Linked DNA regions of Homo sapiens: regions 1 and 3 are each linked to region 2. Evidence: promoter capture Hi-C in 16 types of primary human blood cells and fetal thymus (Javierre and others, 2016). All regions are on one chromosome and are shown on one strand. The core of a region is centred on a gene start or on the middle of the fragment in contact, and the rest is flanking DNA. Distances in the headings are between cores, read along the strand shown.

Evidence for each region. The method cuts DNA at HindIII sites, captures the fragments that hold promoters and counts their contacts. A CHiCAGO score of 5 or more calls a contact.
Region 1: a fragment that was not itself captured here is called in contact with the fragment with the promoter of SLC38A2 in region 2 in 1 of 17 cell types (naive CD8 T cells); the score reaches 5.0 in naive CD8 T cells.
Region 3: a fragment that was not itself captured here is called in contact with the fragment with the promoter of SLC38A2 in region 2 in 15 of 17 cell types (megakaryocytes, M0 macrophages, M2 macrophages and 12 more); the score reaches 14.5 in megakaryocytes.

What each region holds. Positions count from the first base shown.
Region 1 is chr12:46,627,524-46,630,234 of GRCh38, forward strand. The region is part of intron 3 of SLC38A4-AS1 (SLC38A4 antisense RNA 1); the gene reads left to right. Among named protein-coding and RNA genes, the nearest start is that of SLC38A4, 200 kb to the right of the region's middle. The HindIII fragment of the contact is 3,527 bases long and covers 1-2,711 here.
Region 2 is chr12:46,371,348-46,374,047 of GRCh38, forward strand. SLC38A2 (solute carrier family 38 member 2) reads right to left here and starts at 1,426. Exons shown (of 16, transcript NM_018976.5): 1 at 1,162-1,426; 2 at 1-32. SLC38A2-AS1 (SLC38A2 antisense RNA 1) reads left to right here and starts at 1,436. Exons shown (of 2, transcript NR_187299.1): 1 at 1,436-1,515; 2 at 1,966-2,431. RefSeq lists enhancers at 356-505, 586-915, 605-1,308, 1,166-1,245, 1,926-1,985 and silencers at 936-1,135, 1,336-1,675. The HindIII fragment of the contact is 15,961 bases long and covers 1-2,700 here.
Region 3 is chr12:46,652,239-46,654,938 of GRCh38, forward strand. It overlaps SLC38A4-AS1 (SLC38A4 antisense RNA 1), which reads left to right. Exons shown (of 4, transcript NR_125380.1): 4 at 152-341. Among named protein-coding and RNA genes, the nearest start is that of SLC38A4, 170 kb to the right of the region's middle. The HindIII fragment of the contact is 7,316 bases long and covers 1-2,700 here.

The sequences.
Region 1 (2,711 bases), core at 5-2,504, 260 kb after region 2:
GACAGCCATTGCTGCCACTTATTCCTCCATGTGGCCTTTGTGAATGGTCATTTTTGGGGTGAGCCCTCTCATCACTGCAGCTTTGAGCTAAACATCCATCAGGAGAACCCCTTTCCACAGCCATGATAGGAAAATCCTATTGGGACTTTCAAAATTTTGTGCCAGTTACTAAAAAAAAATCTTTGGATAGGTAAAGATATTTTCCGCTAAATGATTCCTAAGATTGGATGCCCAATTGAAGCTATCTGAGTGATGTCATGTGAGGAAATGAAGCATATCAAGTTCAACCATGTGCTTAAGACTGCTTCATTGTTTCTACATTGGATTCCTGGAGCATTATCTCACACCAACTAGTATCACTTCATTACTACTTCATTTGTCTCTCTAGTTATCCTTTAACCTTGTCTTTTGCCTTCCCTGCAGTGAGAGGGTGCACTGGTCTTATTAACTTCATTCATTCATTTAACCAATATTTATTTGCACTTACGATATGCACTGGGGCTATGATGAAGATGAAATGACAGTTTCTGCTCTCGAAGACTCATAGGTGCAGGAGAGATAGGCAGGTAATTCCAATGCAATATCAGGGCCACTGTGATGAAGGAGATATGACTAATGAAAGCAGAAAGAAAAGAATGCTGTATGCCTGTATAGGGGGCACCCAGGGAAGGCTTCCCCAGAGAAAGCAGTGGTTAGCCAAAACTAAAAGTAACTAGGAATTTTCCAAGTGAGAGAAACTTTGGATGATAGGAAATTTCCTTCTAGGAATTATGGGCTGGCTTATTCAAGGAATAGTGAGGTGTTTGGGATGGCTGAGGCTTAGCATGTGGGAAAGAATGGTAGAAGATGAAGCAGGATGAGTGGGCAGTTACTCCTTTTTAATGGCAAAGTATGTTTAGATTTTATCTTACAGGGAACATGAGTAATGGAAAAATTTTAAGAAGGATAATGGCAAGAACATATTTGCATATGAGAGATAATTATTTTAGCATTTGGAAGATGGATTTTTAGGAAAGGGTGAGACTAGAGGCCAGACAATTAATAGATGACCGATAATAGTAAGTGCTGCCGCCAGACTAAAATCCAGATATCCTGGCTCCAAATCAGGAGGTCTCAACCACTATCTAGGTTGCCTTTCTTGTGCAGAGTTCATGAATAGAGTTCAGGAGGCAGTTTACTTGGGTTCAAAACCCTGTTCTGACCCTTAGGGGTGGTGAAATTATTGAAGGATCACTTAATCTTTCTTTGTTTCAGTCCCCTCATCTGTATAATGGGGAGAATACAAATATAGTACAACCTCATGATGTGTGTGTGTGTGTGTGAAGATTAAGTGGATAAATATTTATAAAGTTCTAATAATTGTGCTTGGCAAATAGCAACCACTGTGTAAATGTTGGCAGTGATGATGATGATGCTGGTGGTGATGGTGATGATGATAATGATGTAGGCAACTTTGTCCCACAGCAGGTCCTAATGGAGGGAACTCAGCGGGATGTCCATTCCTGGAAACTGTGAGAACTGATCAGTTACTCTGGATAGGAAAGAGATAGGAATTCTCAAATTCTCACTATGACCTTCACAGTCTATTGGCAGTGAGGTCTTCAGTGAGTTTCCAGATCTAGGTCCACCCATATCTAGAAGCAAGTTGAGCTTTCTCAAAAGGCAATACAAATGATTACTGACTATCTCCTGTTGCAGGGTTCTCAAACATTGGAATGCATCAAAAACATCTGAAGAGTTTGTTTAAACATAGATTTCTGCATTCCAACTCCAGAATTTGTGATTCAATAGATCCAGAGTAGGATCCAAGAATTTGCTCTTCTAACACATTTGAGGGTGATGCTGATGCTGCTGGTCCTGTCTGGGGTCCACACTTGGAGAACTCCTGCCCTGTTATGTGCTCTACTACCTTGCATTAAAGAAAATGAATAAGACTCAGTGTTCCTGGCTTCCTGCTTCCTCCCAAACTGTCTGCTGAGCAACCCCTGATTTCCTCACTGTTTCAGAAGCACTGGCTCTGTAGGCTCCCAGGATGTGTGTGCTGCATGGATCTCTTCTCATCTGTATAACCTCATCCGTGTAACTAAGAGATTGAACCAAATCCCCAGGCCCACTGAATAAGAAATCAGAGTTAAGGCCCCCATGGGAGAGGTGGGTACCTCAGAAGCCAATCTCGTGTGATCCTGCCTTTCATTTCTCTATTGCCCCACTGGAATCATTTGTTGTTGAAGTGTCTATGGCTCTGTGTTTGTGAAGAAAACAGGCAACTCTCTCTGACATTTTCAGCTGTGATTTTGATTTTCCATTCCATAGTTAACTAGTTTAAAGGAGCACAAACCAAAGGTTGTCACCATCGCTAATCTTTGCAATGATTAACTAATTAACATAGTGATTGCAAAATGAACTATTTTCACAACTCAGTGATTCTGATAACTGTGGTTAGCTTGGGTATCATGTGTGTGTGTACATATGTGTGTGTGTGTGTGTGTGAGAGAGAGAGAGCGAGAGAGAGAGATTCTCTAACTCTGATTTCCAGGATTGGCTCCTGTCACTTGGCACCCTTGCTGACTGCACCTGTTTGCAACATTGGGCTACAGGAGGAGTCCTGGAATGGAAGCCTGATGAAAATGACTGGGTAATTCTTAGGATGAAATAGAAGAAGAAATGTAAGACATTTGGAGTTGGCAAGCAGGCACCCTACCAGTTTTGAG
Region 2 (2,700 bases), core at 176-2,675:
TTGGCGGTGGGTGCAGCGGCCCGCGAGTCGGCCTGCGAAAGTAGAGGCGGCGCGTCAGGACCGCAGCGCCAGCCCGCCGCGGTCACGTGACGCCGCCCGGAGGCGCAGCGCGGCTGATTCATCCCAGGCCAGGCGAGTGGAAAAGTACCAGCCGCGCGCGAGGGGCGGGGGCGCGCCGAGGGGCGGAAAAGTACAGACGGCGGAGCCGCGGGGAGAACAAAGATGATGCCACCGCTGTGTTGCGGCCGTCGAGGCCCCCTACTCCGGCAGATTTCAGTATTTCACCCTCTCTATTGTCCCTCGTCGGAGTGGAGGGGGCGAGGGGGGGTTCTGTTTTGCTTTTTCCCAGTCGCTCCAAACTTGCACAGGCACTCAGGGCACACATCCAGCCCCGACCCTGGCTCGTGTGCATGCAACCTAGGCGCACGGCTTTCCGTTTCTAGCATTTGGAACAGCAATGCTGCGTAATCTGTCCTTTACTGCCCGGAGTCCCCACACGGAGAAATGCCTCTGCCGCAGACAGCCTTCCCCAGGAGGCGGAAAGGGCCGACACTACTCCTCTCTCGAGGGGGGCGAACGCCCGGGCCCCGGGAGCTGGGGGTTTGTTTACACACGCGCGCCAGTGCCCTCAAGCACACCCGTCCACAGGCAGCTGGCCCGCGAGTGCTACGCCCGCCCAGCCCCTCCTATGTCCGGAAAGAAAACTGATGCAATATCGATCGTCGATTGTCAAATGTTCCCAACTCGTCTTCCCCAATCTTGGCCTCTCCTGTAATACATGCCCAAGCCCACCTCCGCCGCCCCCAGATTCCTGGCTCCCTGGACTTAATTTTTTTTTTTTATTAAATGCAAATCAGTCACAAGACTTGCCGCAGCAGAGCCGCTGGCCGGGCTAGCTCCCCTCCCCCTAATGGGAAGATGCGGCTCCGCACCGTGCAGGCACGCGGCCCCCGCCCAGCGCCCGCTCTCCTACCCACGTCGCGGGCGCGACACCCGCGCGGCGGGCCAGGGTGGAAGGCTGGCCAGCCCAACCGACAACGCCCGCCTCGAAAGGAAACGGACCCCGCGGCCGCCTTCCCGCGCGGCCCCTCCCGGAAGCCCCTCCCCCACTCTCGCCCGGGCCCCGCGCCCTTCCCACAGACGCCCCCCCGCACGCGTTACCTCGGTGGTCTCTATTCTCACGCAGACGTCTTCAGTGGGTTTCTCTCAGTCAAATACAAATCATAAAAAACAAACAAAAAATTTCCCCAAATCCAACAACAGGCAGGAAAAATAATTTTAATAAAAAAGGAAAAGACAAATTGCCGCCCCAATCCTCCGGCGTCCGCCGTGTCAAGGGAAAGGCGCGAGCGTGCGGTAACGCGTGGTCGGGCTGCTGCTAGCAGTACTGGAAAGGCGTTCTAAGGCGGCGGCGTCGCGCGGCTGTGGAGCAGCCCTGCGAGCGGCGGGTTATAGCGGCACCCCGGGGACGCGTCAGTGGGCGGGACCGCGGCCGCCCGGGCGCCTTCTCTTTGTGTATCAACACCACCTGGGCCCCGCCTCCGACCCGCCCAGACCTAGGCCCCGCCTCCCTGCCCCTCCCTCTGCGGCCCGCGCCCGCGGCCCAGCCCCGCCCGCAGGCGCCCCCAAGACTCTCCCGCAAAGCCCAAGCCCACTCTCTCCAGCTTTCTAGATAGTCTGGAAAGACCCCCAGATGCTTCCCCTGCCTATCCTTTTCAGCCAGGGTTGGTGCTCAACACATGCGGTTGTCTTTGAGGAGCCATCTCCTTAAAATTTTCTCCTGTCCGAGTCACCAGCAGTCCTTGCTTTCGGGGGACACATCAAGGCTTTTGGGGGACACCACCCTCCCACCAAACACTTTCTTGATTGTTATTTTTGTGATTTACAGTGAAGTTTTGTCTCACAAACTTGGGCCAAGGCAGCAAGGTTGTCCTGATGGTTTGTTGTTCTTTCTTTTCCACCTAGACCTGCTTTCACTCTTCAAAACTAGCCGGAGGTCGGCGAGCAGCTCCTTTTCGGGATGTGCTTTTTGTACGGCCATGGAAACTGGACTAGCGGAAAGGCTACCTTTTGGCCAGCAAGCCAGGCCCCTTAGAAAGAGGCCCCAGTGGGGAGCCCGGCGCTCCTAAGGCCGTTTGGGAGTCCCCAGTTTTCCACTCGCTGACACGTTGCTTCTCTTATCCCACCACCGCCGCCCCGGGCAAAGGCACTGCCTTGTCTGAATGCGGGTCTGAGGCGCTTTCTGCGGAGCCTGGTCCTTTCCCTTCAATGGTGATGTGTGTGGTCTTGCTGAGCCAGGCAACTAGGGGGACCCTTCGCTGTGGAAAAATTGGTGCTGCGGGAAAGGCAAGACTCACTCCCTTGCAGGAAACAAAGACCCCTTAGGAGAGAGAAATGTTCATGGAATGAATGAATAAACAAGTTTGACCTACTGCTCTCTTCCTTTTGGGGACTTGGGAGAAATTGGGCAGGGCATAGAGGAAAGGGCTGGGTGTGATCGCAGTTTTTGCTTTCAATGTTTTACTGAGGAAATCCGTACAACTGCCTATTTCCGCCGCACGTGAGGCTTCGGGTGCCCTCGCCTGCACCAGTGTTTATGATTGACAAGCGAGGTCCCGATTTCCCCCATCACACTCCTGTGTTCCCTACCCCAAACCTTCTACTCTGTTCAGGCCAGTCTTCCCTACCGCAAACCTTCTA
Region 3 (2,700 bases), core at 159-2,658, 280 kb after region 2:
GGGAAGGCGGTCTGAACCTCCTTGGCCTGAGCTTCCTATTTCCACGTGAAAAGACCTCCACTAGTTTCACCCTCCAGGCACTCCCACCTAATAATACTGAGATAAGAGGCTGGTCAGCCAGGTGTGTCTCAGCCCCTTCCTCTTTCCACAGATTATTGCCTGCTCCTCCAAGCCCTTCACTGTAGAATGGAAGCCTGTGATTTTCCTGGCATCATGCATGACTGAGAAGGTCAGTGTGGCTAATTCTGAGCTTCAACATCAGGAAACCCGTAGTTCTTCACACTGAGCCGCCTCCTGCAGCACAGTCATCCTTGGTAATAAAGCTGATATTTTAATCAATATCTGTCTTACTCTTTCATCTTGTCCCTCATTTGGTTTAGAATTCAGGTGGGGAAAACAATTGTTTACTTTATCGGACTCCTAACCATGTGCTTGGCAGACACAGGTGAATAAATACAGTCTCTATTCTCAGGAAATTCATAGAGCAATGGTGGGAGGTGGGTAGATGGAAATGGAAGCAAAAAAAACAATGTGAATTACTGTAACTAGGGAAGTGGTGTAGTGGAGTTCAAGAGCTTCAGTTCTGGTCTCATTCAATCTTAGATGCATTCCCAAATGTGCCATTTAATAGATGAGTGACCCTGGGGAAGTAATTTTACCTCAGTGCCTCAGTTTTCTCATCTATAAAATGGGAATTATAATACCCACCTCACAGATTGTAAAGATTCAATGAGATAATACATCTAAATTGTTCAGCACAGTGCCAAGCATGAAGAAAAATCACCCTTTTGACCATTGTTATTATTAGAAGTGTGACATATATGCTGTGTAATCTACAGGAGGGCACCTGTCTCTTCACGTGAGTGCTATTATCCAAAGAGAGGTAGAAAAGAATTCTGTCTATATCATAGAGCAATGATAAGCAAAGCAACCCCAGACTGTAGCTAATATATATTTTGGGGCATCACTCTGTAGGTTCTAGTTTGCTTTTCAGTCTGTCAGTTGGGTGGTAGCTACTCTCCAGCCTGGCATCAGGCACCCAGCAGAGAGGGACCGGCAATCACCAGGCTAGTGCAGCACGAATGTATATTGGTTTATGAAAGCAGCTACCTCCCACATGCAAGAGAAGAGTAAAAGAGAAGAATAGAAGAGGAAAGAGAAGAAAAAAAGGAGGAGGCGAGGAAAAGGAGGAAAGGGGAGGGGAGGGGAGGAAAGGGAAGAAAAATGTATAATTCAGTTCCTTCCAATAAATATGGCTGTGCAATAGTTTACATTAATATTACCAAAGTGACCAAATTAATGTATGAACTCACAGAATAATAATTCAAAATTGATACAAGGAAGTCACATGTAAATTAGGATGGACAGAAGACACATGGAAAGAGGGATGTGCATAAAAGATGCAGGGGAAAGCCTTCATGAAAAAATATGGAAAGGAAATAGAGAACTGTACTACTATCCTCCTCTATCTGTCAATTTCTACTAAGAAGTTTTATACCCTTAAAAAATCATAAAGTTCACATATACACTTTCTCATCTACACTGTCTCTACAAGATACTCAGTCTTTATGAGATGACTTTTTTCATATCCAGTTCTTGCTCTTGTTTTAATGTTCTGGTACTTCAATCACTTTGCAGCAGGAAGAAGGAGACCCTTTTTTTTCCTTTTTTTTTTTCCTTTTGAGACAGAGTCTCGCTCTGTCACCCAGGCTGGAGTGTAATGGCGCAATCTCGGGTCATTGCAACCTCTGCCTCCCAGATTCAAATGATTCTCCTGCCTCAGCCTCCTGAGTAGCTGGGATTACAGGCGCGCACCACCACGCCCTACTAATTTTTTTTTTTTTTTTTTTTTTTGTATTTTTAGTACAGACAGAGTTTCACCATGTTGGTCAGGCTGGTCTGGAACTCCTGGCCTTGTGATCTGCCCACCTTGGCCTCCCAAAGTGCTGGGATTACAGGTGTGAGTCACTGCGCCCGGCCAAGACCCTCCTTTTCAATACCATCATCCAACCGTCTACTTATGACCACACCCCGCCCACCTCCATCCACCTGGCTACTTATTCCAGCTGCAGCAGCCTCCCTCTCGCTCTTTAGCATTTGAGGTTCCTCTGGCTGGGATGTCCATCCCCCTGACTTCCACACTGCTTGCACCTTCACTTTCCTTAGATCCTACTGATACTACCTTATTGGGAAAACTTTCTCTGGCCACTTTTTTTCAATGAGAACTCTATCTCCCCAAAATACTCCTTCCCTTTTCTCCTGCTTTATTATTCTCCAAAGCCATAATCTCCATCTAACATGGTATATACCTTTACACGTTTGCTGGCTTATTGTTGTCTTTCCTTCTGTCTTAGGTTGGATTTCCTAGAAACAGAACCTGAGAGAAGAATTCAGGTGCATATTGAGGGAATGCTCTTCAGGAAAACCTGTAAAGGGAGGGAATGATGCAGGATAGTGTGAGTGAAGCAGCCGGGCAAGGGTGTGCTTCCAGGGAGGTCTAGCCATGAGAAAGAATTTTTCCGGTGCACTAATTGCATCTGGAAGCAAGAGGCCCACTCTTTGTACCCTCCTTTCAGTCGTTGGCTGTGTGCTGAGTTCGGGGCATTGCGACTTCCTGGCTGAGGCAATGCCCTTGCACTGAGGTCAATTCTCTTTCGAATGGGACAGATGGGAGCCAACATGCATAGAAACTGGGAGCAG